Linked DNA regions of Homo sapiens: regions 2, 3 and 4 are each linked to region 1. The links are contacts of gene promoters, found by promoter capture Hi-C in blood cells and fetal thymus (Javierre and others, 2016). All regions are on one chromosome and are shown on one strand. Each heading gives the region's core, a stretch centred on a gene start or on the middle of the fragment in contact. The rest is flanking DNA. Distances are from core to core; before and after follow the strand shown. Region 1 holds the start of PIK3R1 (phosphoinositide-3-kinase regulatory subunit 1). Region 2 holds the start of TAF9 (TATA-box binding protein associated factor 9). Region 3 overlaps MAST4 (microtubule associated serine/threonine kinase family member 4). Region 4 has its middle 24 kb from the start of CD180.

Evidence for each region. The method cuts DNA at HindIII sites, captures the fragments that hold promoters and counts their contacts. A CHiCAGO score of 5 or more calls a contact.
Region 2: a contact is called between the fragment with the promoter of TAF9 here and the fragment with the promoter of PIK3R1 in region 1, in 1 of 17 cell types (fetal thymus). The highest score is 5.6, in fetal thymus.
Region 3: a fragment that was not itself captured here is called in contact with the fragment with the promoter of PIK3R1 in region 1 in 1 of 17 cell types (naive B cells); the score reaches 5.3 in naive B cells.
Region 4: a contact is called between a fragment that was not itself captured here and the fragment with the promoter of PIK3R1 in region 1, in 6 of 17 cell types (naive B cells, monocytes, non-activated CD4 T cells and 3 more). The highest score is 7.5, in naive B cells.

Annotation. Positions count from the first base shown.
Region 1 is chr5:68,213,861-68,217,325 of GRCh38, forward strand. It overlaps PIK3R1 (phosphoinositide-3-kinase regulatory subunit 1), which reads left to right and starts at 1,896. Exons shown (of 16, transcript NM_181523.3): 1 at 1,896-2,089. RefSeq lists silencers at 1,073-1,292, 1,513-2,612. The HindIII fragment of the contact is 2,835 bases long and covers 1-2,731 here.
Region 2 is chr5:69,367,305-69,370,769 of GRCh38, forward strand. It overlaps TAF9 (TATA-box binding protein associated factor 9), which reads right to left and starts at 2,216. Exons shown (of 3, transcript NM_003187.5): 1 at 2,159-2,216. AK6 (adenylate kinase 6) reads right to left here and starts at 2,216. Exons shown (of 5, transcript NM_016283.5): 1 at 2,159-2,216. The coding sequence starts at 2,186. It overlaps RAD17 (RAD17 checkpoint clamp loader component), which reads left to right and starts at 2,514. Exons shown (of 19, transcript NM_133338.3): 1 at 2,514-2,629. RefSeq lists an enhancer at 2,768-3,317. The HindIII fragment of the contact is 4,867 bases long and covers 1-2,697 here.
Region 3 is chr5:67,152,435-67,155,899 of GRCh38, forward strand. It overlaps MAST4 (microtubule associated serine/threonine kinase family member 4), which reads left to right. Exons shown (of 29, transcript NM_001164664.2): 25 at 203-432; 26 at 1,024-1,146. Among named protein-coding and RNA genes, the nearest start is that of CD180, 43 kb to the right of the region's middle. The HindIII fragment of the contact is 2,396 bases long and covers 529-2,924 here.
Region 4 is chr5:67,170,877-67,174,341 of GRCh38, forward strand. No RefSeq gene overlaps it. Among named protein-coding and RNA genes, the nearest start is that of CD180, 24 kb to the right of the region's middle. The HindIII fragment of the contact is 3,845 bases long and covers 1-3,465 here.

The DNA.
Region 1 (3,465 bases), core at 646-3,145:
TCAGTTTAAAACAAATGAAATACTGAATTTATTTAGTATATGAAAAGAGAGCCTTATTTTCTTCCCTTGGGACACTCTTTATGATGAAAAAACGTAAAGGAAATACAATGTATGCTGGAAATAAATTACTAAAGACTGTGTCTAAATGAGGAGGTGCATTTGGGAATTTTATTGTTTTTAGGTTTGCGGGTGAACAGAATCCCACTGCAATAGTGCATAAGACTCTTTCCAGCTATCTCCAGAAGAAGGAGATAACTAGCAAGGTTTTCACTGTTAGAGTTTGTTCAGAGCGGAACCTAAAGGAAATACTGGGAAGGTCACAGCAGTTTCATCTCAGCTTATTGGATTGGATCAAAGTAATTCTACTGCAAGGCAAGGTATATCATTCCATTTACAGACAGAGAATGCATGAAGTCCTTCATTTCACACAGTAGGTGTGAAGAAGGTACCTTGGTAAATTTCCTATTTGCTTTCAGATAAAGTGTATTCTTAAACATGATGTGGGTAGCTGCCTGTTTTTGTGTCGCCTCTGCAAGAGACATCTTGGAATAATAGAAACACCAGTGTCTGAATAGCCTAAAGTGGAGCTTACTTTTCTGTTAGGTGAGTCACCTTTAAAAATGATATTTTTTAAGGATAAGCGATGAATTTTAGGACGTTCTTCCCTCTACTTCCAACGTCCACAAGAATAAACCACCAAATTCAACGTTTTACAGAGGCCAAGTGCTTAGGTTTTGTGTGTTTGTTTTTAAGAGTTTTCTTGCAAGGAAACTGGGAGGGAACTATAAAAGGGCTTTAGGCAAACAGGGTGGGCGGGTGCAGGGCTTTAAGCTGCAGAAAGGAGAATCTGGAAAGAGCTTTTAGGAAGCAGATTCTCACATGTTTTAATATGAAAGAGTGGCACACGTGGTGCTGGCATTCCATCTTACCATCAGTGGAAGGTTTGAACCAACATCAAATTTTTCTGGAGCAACTTAGGTAATTATTACTTGAAGAATATGCATTTCAAAACTAACACCTTTAAGAGACAATGTAATTCACCTGCGCTTCCCCGCCCCCCCCGCCCGCGCCAACCCCACCCCCCGCCAACCCCGCCCCCGACTCCGCGAACGCCGAGGGGCCCGTGGTCTGCCTGAGTGACCTCCATTTGCTCTGTCATCTCAGGACTAGAAGCCATCAGCCAGCGTACGCCCTCAGAAAACTCTCTTCCCTTCTCGCGGGTCCGCCTGGCTCCCGGAGGCGGCGGTGCCAGGCTGCCGGAGTTAGCCAGCGGCAGGCTGCGGGCGCCCGTCCCTCCGGTTCACCCTTTCACCCCTCCTTCACCCCCGGAGCGCCAGGCGGGTGCCGCGGGTTTTCCGCCCACTCGGAAGGCAGTGCTGGCGAGACCAGGAATTGCAGGGCCTCTCCGCTTTGGCGAGCTCTGGAATCCGAGTCCTCCCCACCCCAGCCACTCTGCTGGGGCGCTAGGGGCTCGAAAAAGCCTGGGGTTGGCTGAAAGACACTCGGATTAGAGACGCAGCCAGCCTCCAGGGAGGTCTGAACTTGTCTTCGACCTCCCCGAACCCCTCCGCCTCTGCGCTGGGAGACGCCCAGCAGCCGGGCGGGCCCGGGACGTGTAGAGCCAGAGCACTCCGCAGCGGAGGCAGCGCGCGGCACGGCCGCCCGGGGCATCCCCGCGGCTGGGGGGCGGAAGGCGAGGGCGGTGGCAGGAAGGGTCCGCCAGGCCTGAGCTCGCTCCCCCACTGCCAGCCGCCGGCTCGGAGGCCCGAGCCGTGCGGACGGAAAGGGGCGGAGCCGCGGGCTCTGGTTGGTGTGGGCTCGGGGGCGGGGCGCGCGGGGCCGGGCCGGAGGCGGGGCTAGCGCCGGGCGCTGGAGCTGCGGGCGCACGGAGAGGAGTCGCCAGCAGCTGGAGCGGAGTTGGAGGAAGCAGCGGCAGCGGCGAGGGCGGCAGGCTAGCTGTCGGAGACGGCAAGCACGGATCGGGCACGGCCGGCGGGTCGCAGCCGGGCTGGAGGCCGGTCGGAACCGAGCGGGCAGGAGGCCACCGCTGCAGCGCGGGCCCCGCAGAGGAAGGAAGCCGGCGGGCGGGGTAGGTAGGCAGCAGCAGCCCCGGGTGTGTGTGCTCGGGCGGGGGAGGCGGTGCATGTGTGCACGGCTGCCGCGACTCTCTTCCTGTCACTGGCAGCGGCTTCTCCTTCTGCAGAGCCCCGCCGGGGGGAAGCGGGCTGGCCACCGGCCCTCCCCGCCTCCGGCATCTCCTGGCCGCCGGGCAGCACTACCCCCGCGCGCGGCCGGCGTCCTGTGAGATCCCCGCCATCCTGACTCCCGTTTCCCCCGTCCTCCTGCGAGCTGGTCCTGCACGCCGCCGGTCGCATTTGCCCCCGGAGTTGCCGACGAGCTCGGGCTTCCTCCCACCCTCCGTCACCGCACACTTCGGAGGGTCCCCGCTGTCGCCTTGCTGCAGTTTTCCGGGGCCCCTCACCGGAGGAGAGCGCCCTGGCCGCTGCCTTCGTGTTGCGGGAAGGAGCGCTCCCTTCCCCCGTGGCCCTCCAGCTGCAGCCAGGGTCGCTGCCCGGGCCCTTCCCGGGGCGGGCGAGGCGGCGGTGGTCCCCGGAGCTCGTCCCCTAACCCCCGCCTTCCGAAGTTTGCCGCCCTCCTCTTCCGGGGTGGGGGAAGTGCGCCTCGGGGCGGTTGGTCGCTGGGGCCCTAACTCAGCGTTTATTGCCAGCCAAGCTTGGGCAGGTTGTTGGAGGCATATTTAGTGGGGTCTTGGAACCGCCCGGAAATCCAGCTTTTGGAACGTGGGGCGAGGCGGGAGGGACCTGCCCAGCAATATGGAGCCGGCTGGGGAGAGCCAGGGAGCCTGCAACCCGGAGCTAAAATATCGTGGGCAATTCTCTGGAAACCACAGCTCTAACCTAAGCTCAGAAACTGCCCCTCAGATCACAAGACAAAGAGAACAGAAAACCTCTGGCCAGGCACTCCTGTACAGAAATACACTTTGATAACCAGAATTGGAGCCTGAAATGCAAGGATATATGCAGAATGGCTGTTACGTGTTGAATGCAGAATGTGTGTCAACTGGGTTTGGGGGAATTCTTCTGTTTCCCGGGGCGCTATTAATATCGGAAAGGTCTCACTTCCACCGTTAATCCCTTGAGCTGCAGCGCTGTTGGTGTCCGAGTGTGAGTCTGCTCTTTATTTGGGGGCTTCATGATTTTAGGTTTTTTTTCTTTTTTCTCTTCTTTTCCTCTTTGTCAGCCAGTGCGAAGTACCAATGGATAAAGCAGTTCCGGGTTTTGAATGCAACATAAGATTGTCATTTTGGTGTGATGAGGCTCAAGTTTTAGTAATCAGGAGGGATATTCACAGAGCTTATTGGTCAAGGCTTGATGTGGAGTTATATTTTAATGCTTCATTAGTTCTGTTACGTTTTGGCAACCTTAAAGATGGTTAGATATTAGC
Region 2 (3,465 bases), core at 966-3,465, 1.2 Mb after region 1:
GATTGAGACAATCCTGGCCAACATAGTGAAACTACATCTCTATTAAAATACAAAAATTAGCCGGGCGTGGTGGCGCGTGCCTGTAATCCCAGCTACTCAGGAGGCTGAGGCAGGAGAATCCCTTGAACCAGGTAGTTGTAGGATGCAGTGAGCCAAGATCGCGCCACAGCACTCCAGCCTGGCGACAGAGACTCCATCTCAAAAAAAAAAAAAAAAAAATTAGCCACCTCGAATCAATTACAATAATTTATTTACCTTTTTCTTTTTTTAAAGACAAGATATCTCTTTGTTACCTAGGCTGGAGTGCAGTGGAACTTGGCTCACTAGAGCCTTTACCTCCTGGGCTCAAGCAATCCTCCCATCTCAGCCTGTCCGGTAGCTAGGACCACAGGTATGCACCACCATGCCCTGGTTAATTTTTGTAGAGACGGGGTTTGGCTATGTTGCTTAGGCTAAGCTCAAACTCCTGAGCTCAAGCGATCTCCCCACCTCCACCTCCCAAAGTGCTGGGATTTACAGGCATGAGCCACCCACCTGGCCTATTTGCTTTAACTTATAAAGATTTAAAAACTGTTCATGGCCACGTGTGGTGGCTCGCGCGTGTAATCCCAGCAATTTGGGAGGAGAAGGCGGGAGGATCGCTTAAGCGCAGGAGTTCGAGACCAGCCTGGCCAACATAATGAGACTCTGTCTCAAACAAAAACAAAAACAAGAACAAAAACAAAACTGTTCATGTTAAAATTAAGCAGTCTGAAAATTACCTCTACTGACCCCTTGCGCCCTTCCCTAGAGATAACCACTGTAAACCAGTTTCCTTTCCCAAAGAAACCCTATTTATGTTTGCATGTAAATGTACATATATGTACATACTCTTTGTTATATAAATACAACACATATTCCCTTTTACATAAATGACAATACTATATACATTGTTCTTTACCTTCCCCTTCTGATACCTATTAAAATTACATTTCAAGATCATCAAATTCATAATTTTCAGCTATTCAGATTTAACATCCCTGAAATTAAACTTAAGCATAAAGATAACAGGGATAATCCAGTTCCCATACCCAGGAGAATAACGGTCACCTCAAGTCCACTATAATACACCAAGTCTGAACCCTGGACTCAACATGTTTTCAATAAAATGTTCACTTTAAAGTTTTGACAATGACTTAATAACCAGGGCACTATGTTTGATCCATGCAAAAAGATGTAAAATCTTCCGCTTAAGGAATCTAAAATTCTAAACGTTATTTGTGGGGTGGTTAATCTGCACCTCTCAGAAACAGACATGTCTTGTGCGCTGCCAACAATTTTACCTTTGGGTGAATGATGTAACTTTACTGTTCCCACAAAGAGTCTTAATTTTTCTGTACCTTGCAATAAAATCTACATGCATTAGATTTTTCCACGAATGGCCTACAATTTGATAAACACTTTCAGGACTAAACGGCTAGCAAAAATATTCGTTAAAGTCGTTATGCAGCATTTTAATTCCCTTCACTGATAACATGCACCCTGAGTATGGCTTCAAAGACCCACTCCTACGCGAGAAACGACCCGAAATGCTCTATATGCCTTCCTTTTAAGGGGCGGGGGGATCCTTTGATGTAACTCAACAAAAGCATACAGCAATTTCGTCACGTCACAAACATCTGAACTCGTTTACCGAAATCTAATCTGAGGCGTTTATCAGAAGCAAAGAAAAAATAAAATACGGCCCACGGAGGCCTAAGGAGTGAGGCATCCACCATTAATGACTCTACCGGGAAGCAGATATGGCCTTACGTTATTTCGCTAAAAATCCCAAGGCCAACCCTGCCAAAGAATCAACAACCCATTTTACAAACGAAATACCAGATTCAGAAAGACTAAGCAGGTTGCCAAGCTGGAGAGCTGGATCTGCCGACCTCTCTCCACCCCCCCCCGCCCCCCCCCGGAGCCTCAGGCCAACGGAATTAACGTTCCGCGTCCCCTCCCTCGCCTCCCGCAACGCCCGCGAGGGTCGGCTCCCGGGGCGCTGACAACCGCCTCGTGGCCCTCGGCCGGCCTCTGAAGAGGGCAGTGAGGGGCCCCCACCTGGGCGCCCGATGCCCAGAGCACTCTGCGCCCCCAGCCTGCCCCAGCCCAGTCCCTCCCGGCCGCGCGCCCTGACCGGTGAGCAGGATGTTCGGAAGCAACATGGTCCCCGCCGCGACGGCTTCGGGCGCCTCGCTCACGTGCCCTTTGCTCTACAGGGAGGAGCCGGAAGGGGCGGGCGGCAGCAAAAGCCCACGGCCCCAAAGGCCCCGAAGCCCACCGCGGCGCCCCTAGCCTGCCCCGGCGGCCCAGCCGCGGCCCACTGGTTACCTGGCTTTCGATGACACATTTCCGTCGCAAAGTTGGAGGGTGGGCATAACTCGGGTCGGTACTTCGGGTCAGGCAGTGCGCTGGATGCCTAAGTCACACACTCCTTCGGTGGTCCCCGCCCTTCGCTTGCGCCGACCAGTCTGGAAGGTCCCCGGGAGGCCGTACCTCCGAGAGGCTCGGCGTTGAGCCCGGGTAGGGCCAGGTGGCTGCCCTTTCACCTAGGGTAGTCCCTGGTCGCCTCCGCTCTTCGCCTAAAAGGGGATGCAGCTCCGGGAAAGTAAGGCCGCCGCGGTTGCGGCTATATTATGTATATGTCTTAGAGACGTGAGTCTATCTCTGCCTTCAAGCTTTCCTGGGCTCTCGTCGCTCCTCCTCCCGACCCGCCCATCCCATCTGGGGATGAGAAGATTGAGGGTGCAGAGCCCTGTCCTGCAGCGGGGATTTGCGAGCTCAACCCGGCACCCCACTGATTACAGGATTACGTTGGACGAATATTTGAGCTTAGTATTCCCTGTTCACTGTGTGGGGTGGTGGTGGGTCGGCTAGGAATAGTCTTGAAGGTCTACCTCTGACATCTCATTTCAGTAACCTCGCATCTTCAGGGACAGTTATCTGCTTTTTAAAGGAGGTAATTGTCAATCTTGTTTTCAAGAGTGAATAGAGACCTGACCGTGACAACAGTCTGCACCTTTTTTTGTTTGTTTGTTTGTTTTTGTTTTGTTTTGAGACGGAGTCTCACTCTTGTCGCCCAGGCTGGAGTGCAACCTCCGCCTCCTGGGTTCAAGTGATTCTCCTGCCTTAGCCTCCAGAGTAGCTGGGATTACAGGCGCCCACCACCACGCCCGGCTAATTTTTGCATTTTTAATAGAGACGGGGTTTCACCATGTTTTGGCCAGGCTGGTCTCAAACTCCTGACCTCAGATGATCCGCCCGCCTCGTCCTCCCACGGTGCTGGGATTACAGGCATGAGCCACCGCGTCCGGCCCCTGGTCTGCATCTTTTATTTCGAGCTACAAACTATATTTACTCAAATAGGTGTTTTTTTTCCACCTGTATACCTTTTGAAACGTCACAGTCTCTAATCGTGAACGATTTGGGGCGGAGGGCTGAACA
Region 3 (3,465 bases), core at 477-2,976, 1.1 Mb before region 1:
TGAAGTTTGACAGTTTTGGAATTCATGCTAGTTACTGATAGAAACATTTTTGTATTATTTCATCTTCATTTTGCTATTGGAAACAAATGGATTTGTGTTGTGACTATGCCCCCAGTCCTGGCAAGGCTCATGGGGTGAGGGTTGCCTGCATGGATGCTTGTGTGAGCCACATGGGCTTTGATGACTGGCTTCTTTGTTACAGATATGTTTGCTGTTTCCCCTCTGGGAAGTCCAATGTCTCCCCATTCCCTGTCCTCGGACCCTTCTTCTTCACGAGATTCCTCTCCCAGCCGAGATTCCTCAGCAGCTTCTGCCAGTCCACATCAGCCGATTGTGATCCACAGTTCGGGGAAGAACTACGGCTTTACCATCCGAGCCATCCGGGTGTATGTGGGAGACAGTGACATCTATACAGTGCACCATATCGTCTGGGTAAGACCTGCATGTCTCGCACTTGGGATTTTTCATTTCCAGCCAAGCTGGAGAGTGGATAGGTTGGCTGATAAATAGCAAATATATTTACTTTTAAGCTTGCATTTGCGACCTGTTTCATTTTCCTTTTAGAGCTCCATCCCTGTATGTGTATGGTGGAATTGAATTTAGCAAAAACGAATATCTCATAATTCTGTCCAGTTTTCATATTCGATTGTTCTTTCTTACATACCAAGCTGGTAGACATAGTCAAAGGCAATCCTATTTCCATCCTTCTTTTATTTTATCATTTTTTCCTAGCCTTCTTTTTAAAAATGACCTTCTCAAATCACCTGAAATGTTTTGGTCATTCATTTTTTTTTCTTTGTGGCTCTGGTACTTTCAGTCTGAATCACCTGAAAATTTCTAAGTACCATAGAAAGTTTCCTATTTTAGAATAATGATAGAATAGGAATAGTAAACGTACCTGTTAGATTTTCTATTAGAGGCTTAGGACATTTGCTAATTAACTCATTATTCTCCCAGAAGACACAGTAGGTGTTAGAGTAGTCATTTGTTTGCCTACAAATATCCTCTCCTCTTGGACTTTAGAATGTAGAAGAAGGAAGTCCGGCATGCCAGGCAGGACTGAAGGCTGGAGATCTTATCACTCACATCAATGGAGAACCAGTGCATGGACTTGTCCACACAGAAGTTATAGAACTCCTACTGAAGGTATTGTATGTTTTATGTCAGGGCCATGCTGATGAGACAGGCAGCCCAAAGGGGCTAGTACCAGGAGATTGATTTCCCTGTGTCACACCCATGTCTGATTACTGAGAAAGTATTCATTAGTCTCAAGTTTAAAGACAAAGATATTATGAATTCTCTGGTTTTATGTCATGAAATAATGTCCTTATATCTGCATACTCATTCCCTAATTTAATTTTGCTTCTCATTCTAAATTGTAAGTAGTAAGAATTCTCTTTGTTTATATACCTTACACAGTGACATCTATTTGGAGAGTCACCTATCCTGAAGGTGACTTCCTTCAGGAACTTCTAACAGGTTTCATTCTAGTATACTAGAAGACAAAATTGTATTAAACTGTGAGGTTTGATCTGAAGGTTTAGTCTGAGAATTAGAGTTCCTTTGAAAGATAAAATTGTAAATATATACACATGTACTATAAATTATAAAAAATAAGTGGTACTGAAAGAAGAAGTTCTAGCAATTATTAGGCCTCCCTCCCCACCATACAAATTAACTTAAACAGGGATCAATTTCTACTTAAAATGTAAGCAGAATATAGCCTATGGAGTAAGAAGGTCACAGGAAGCATGACTGTAAATGGAGAGAGAGAAAGGACACACACTGATCCTCTCAGATAGCTCTCAGATAGTTCTGTTCAGTTATTTGATTTGTCTTTTTCATTCTTTATAGCAGCGTTGTATTTTATGCAGAACAGCTCCTGCGACAGCATATCTCTAGATAGTATCATATGTCTGTTCACAACATTAGAATAAGAAATAATACACTGAAATGTATATATTGAGAAGTATACATTTGCTTATTTTGCTGAGACATAATTGATCACTTTCGTGATTTATTTTGTAAAGTATTTTAATAGAATTCTGTATTTTAAAACTTCTCTTCCTGCTTCTATGAAATTTGAATGTGTATTTCCCCTAGAGGACTCTGGCAAGGTCTCTTAGCAGACTCAGATGATCCCATTTCTATTGTCTTGCCCTCATCTGGCTACGGAGCACCTTGCACAACCCAAAGCCTTCATTTCTGGATGCAGTCGATGTGTGTCACTGAAACTGCTTAAACAGTGGAGTGGAGAGCCATTGGCACCCTTTGAAGCCACGGTGTACTCTGTCACAAATCCAAAGAACATCCTGCCTGTGTTCATAAAGGAAGCACTCAAGAGGAGTAAGCAATGTCATGAAACCAAGAGGATACAAGGGATTTAATTATCTTCCCAGTGAACTGTGTAATCATGCAGCTTCCTTCCAAATTTAACCAGTGACTCTTGAAATCAGAGTATTAAGTGACTAGTGTCAGTGCTGGGCTCCTGTGTGCCTTCATTGGTTTAACAGCAGGGAAGTTGGCTGTATTATGGTACTCTCGAATGCTGTTTACACAGTGTTTTATACTTGCAAAGGACTTTACGGAATGTCATGGCAGTCTTAGAGAAAGGTGGAGAAGTCCTGACAGGGGTGTAGGTGTATGTTTAGAACTGCATGACTACCTGTATAGTGTTTGTCTTTTGGATTATGAATATAGTAAGCATTTTCCATGTTTCATAGATTCACATATTTGGTCTTGTTTACCTTCACAACTTCAAAGTGAACCTGCTATGGGAGCACTATCTTCCATGCATAGGCAAACTTGTCCAAAGTCACTCAGCATCCTCGATCCATGGAATTATAAAATGTGATGGTTATCCAGTTCAGCTCCCCACTGGCTATATGAATCCCTGACAGTGTCCTCCTTCAGCTTCACCTCAAAGCTTTCCTGCCATGAGGAAAGCTTTTAGACAGCATCAGTCTTTCTAAAAACAACTTTTTAAGTAGACCGAGGTCATTCTTCACCCACTAGCATTACAGGTGGAGACGATACTTGGCCCAGTCCCATTACCTGTTCCAATTAGCCAGGCTTAACTTCTGTGATCTAAGAAACTTTCTTTTCAACCAAGTTGCTTTTTAAGTATAGCATTAGTTTAAATCCCCAATGCATAGGAGAAGCCGTAAAACTTTACCAGCCTCTGCTTCAGAAATTTCCTTTCCATGGACACTGGGGAGCTTCAGTGTACTAAAATGGGGGCCATCAAATAGCTTGATTACCATCCTCCCATATCTGTCAAGCCGCTGATGTGCACAGAGCTGATGTGCAAAATACTGCAAGGGCCAAACAAAAATGACACATAAGGGCCAGGCACAGTGGCTCATACCCGTAATCCCAGCACTTTGGGAGGCCGAGGTGGGGCGATCACGAGGTCAGGAGTTCAAGACCAGCCTGGCCAAGATGGCGAAACCCCATCTCTACTAA
Region 4 (3,465 bases), core at 636-3,135, 1.0 Mb before region 1:
CCATGTCCCGTCACTATTGTGCTACTGGCAGCCTTAGTTTGGTCTCTATCATAGTCTCTCTCCAGATGACCTCAACAGCCTCCTAACTGGTTTTCTTGCCTTCGCTCTTACCCCTTCTAGTCTGTTCTTCACAATGTCCCTAGAGTGATGTTGCTCAAGTGTAAGCACACCATGTTACTACCCTGCTTTAAACCTTTAAGTAGCACCCATATTCTTCGGGTAAAGGCCAGTTCCTTAAATGTATCCTTACCCTAGATAACTCCAGCTCAGCATGTGTGCTGGACTCAGACATCTGGAGGAAGCCTTTTGGAAAGGCCTGGACCGACCTGTGGACTGTCTTTGCTTCACTGTGTATCTGCCTCATGGCACTCACTGCGTTATTTTGGAGTTACCTTTCTACATGTGTATCTTCTTTGCTAGACTTCAAGCTCCCTGGTTCTCTGTCTTGTTTTTTACTTCTAGGACAAAGCACATCGGAGACATCAATAAGTATTTGCTGATATGGTTAGGCTTTGTGTCTCCACCCAAATTTCCTCTTAAATTGTAACCCCCATAATTCCCACGTGTCAAGGGAGAGACGAGGTGGAGTAACTGAATCATGGGGGCAGTTTCCCTCATGCTGTTCTCATGAGAACTGATGGTTTTATAAGGGGCTCTTCCCCACCCTTCGCTCAGCACTTCTTTCTGCCGCTGTGTGAAGAAGGTGGCTTGCTTCCCCTTTGCCTTCTGCCATGATTGTCAATTTCCTGAGGCCTCCCCAGCCATGCTGAACTACGAGTCAATTAAACCTCTTTCCTTTATACATTACCCAGTCTTGAGCAGTTCTTTATAGCAGTGTGAGAACGGACTAATACATTTGCTGGACCGAATTGAACAAGAAAGGAAGTATTAGTAGTCGCTACTGTTTGTAGCACATTTACTAGAAGCCAAGTAACACACTAAATACTTTATTTCCATCTTCTTATTTAATCTCCGTGCCATTTGAACTATACGTTGCTTCATTTTATAAATTAGGAAGCCAAAACTTGGAAAGAGGTTAAGTGACTAACCCTCGTGATTGGCAGGACTGAGGCTTGAACTCAAGCGATCTGACTGGACAGCCCATACATTTAACCTCTACCATTAGACGAGACCTTCTTCCTCCCACACACTATTCTACTACAATATAAATTGCAAGATGAAATGGGACAGAATCATGACAGTGTTTTTCACTGCCTGCGTGATGTAGTTTTCCCTGCTTAGAGGAACCCACTCTGCTAAGATTCACAGTTTTTAAAAGTAAGTATGGAAATGGTCATTTTAATGGGACTTGGTATCATGCTATGCAGAAAAGTCGGTCTTCACCATAAAAGAAAAAACCCACAAAGGATATTAAGTACACACATCACAGAGCCAATAATGGCCATAGCAAGAGCTATTAAGTGAACAACCAGTTTAGAGCGAATACATAAAAGAAACTTTAAATGAAAAGCAAGAGATTGAAGTTTTAAAGGTATTTACCTTGAGCTCGACCAGGTAAAACTAATGAGGTCATTAAAGGGCAAACAATTAGACATGCTCTTGTGGGTCTGTCCAGTCTGGGGCACAATTTCTTGTACTGTATTTTCAGCATCCACGTAGTGTTATCTTATTTGGGATTTTAAAAAATTGAAATGTAGCTAAATATGTGTTTGGGTGTATAATATTTCCCTAATAAACTGAGGGCTACCTCTTTTAAGCCCAAGGCATTTTTTTAAAGAGACATGGGTTGCCCATGCTGGCCTCAAACCCCTGGGCTCAAGGGATCCTCTCTGCTCAGCCTCTCGAGTACCTGGGACTACAAGGGTGCCCAGCTCTTCAAGGCATTATTTTTCCTTCTTTATAACAATGTAAGCACAATGTGATGCAGCCTACAAAAATTACAAGTTCTCGTAAATTTGTTTCAGTTCATTGTAGATTCTGTATATTAGCCCTTTGTCAGATGAGTAGGTTGCGAAAATTTTCTCCCATTTTGTAGGTTGCCTGTTCACTGACGGTAGTTTCTTTTGCTGTGCAGAAACTCTTTAGTTTAATTAGATCCCATTTGTCAATTTTGGCTTTTGTTGCCATTGCTTTTGGTGTTTTAGACATGAAGTCCTTGCCCATGCCTGTGTCCTGAATGGTAATGCCAAAACAAACAACCCCATCAAAAAGTGGGCGAAGGACATGAACAGACACATCTCAAAAGAAGACATTTATGCAGCCAAAAGACACATGAAAAAATGCTCACCATCACTGGCCATCAGAGAAATGCAAATCAAAACCACAATGAGATACCATCTCACACCCGTTAGAATGGCAATCATTAAAAAGTCAGGAAACAACAGGTGCTGGAGAGGATGTGGAGAAATAGGAACACTTTTACACTGTTGGTGGGACTGTAAACTAGTTCAACCATTGTGGAAGTCAGTGTGGCGATTCCTCAGGGATCTAGAACTAGAAATACCATTTGACCCAGCCATCCCATTACTGGGTATATACCCAAAGGACTATAAATCATGCTGCTATAAAGACACATGCACACGTATGTTTATTGTGGCATTATTCACAATAGCAAAGACTTGGAACCAACCCAAATGCCCAACAATGATAGACTGGATTAAGAAAATGTGGCATATATACACCATGGAATACTATGCAGCCATAAAAAAGGATGAGTTCATGTCCTTTGTAGGGACATGGATGAAATTGGAAATCATCATTCTCAGTAAACTATCGCAAGAACAAAAAACCAAACACCACATATTCTCACTGATAGGTGGGAATTGAACAATGAGAACACATGGACACAGGAAGGGGAACATCACACTCTGGGGCCTGTTGTGGGGTAGGGGGAGGGGGGAGGGATAGCATTGGGAGATATACCTAATGCTAGATGACGAGTTAGTGGGTGCAGCGCACCAGCATGGCACATGTATACATATGTAACTAACCTGCACATTGTGCACATGTACCCTAAAACTTTAATAATAAAAAAAAAATTACAAGTTCTGCCTTTTGGAGGTGGCATGATGTGGGGACATGGGGCAAGACTATCAAGAGGACCAGAGAATTCATGAACTAGAGATAGGAATTAAAGTAGGGAGAAATCACTTCTAAAAATAGTACTAACCCTCCCACAGGGGGCAATGGCAGCTTCCCTTGGCTGTTGAGCACTGAACTGCCAAGCATTTACAAGAAGAAAAGGGGTTGGCTTGAAGACTTCAGGTGAGGCAGCACATCTCAGCTCTAACATGCACATGATTCATGTGGGATCTTGCTAATTCTGGTTCAGAAGGCCTATGATAGCGCAGAAAATTCTAACAAGCTCTTCTCAAATGACTCAGATGCTGCCTGCCTGTTGACCACATGAATGCCCTGCCTGGCCACACCAGGGAGTTAGAATCTCTGAAGATTGGGCCTAGGCATCTATAATTAAAAAATAATAAAATAACTTCCACAGGTGAT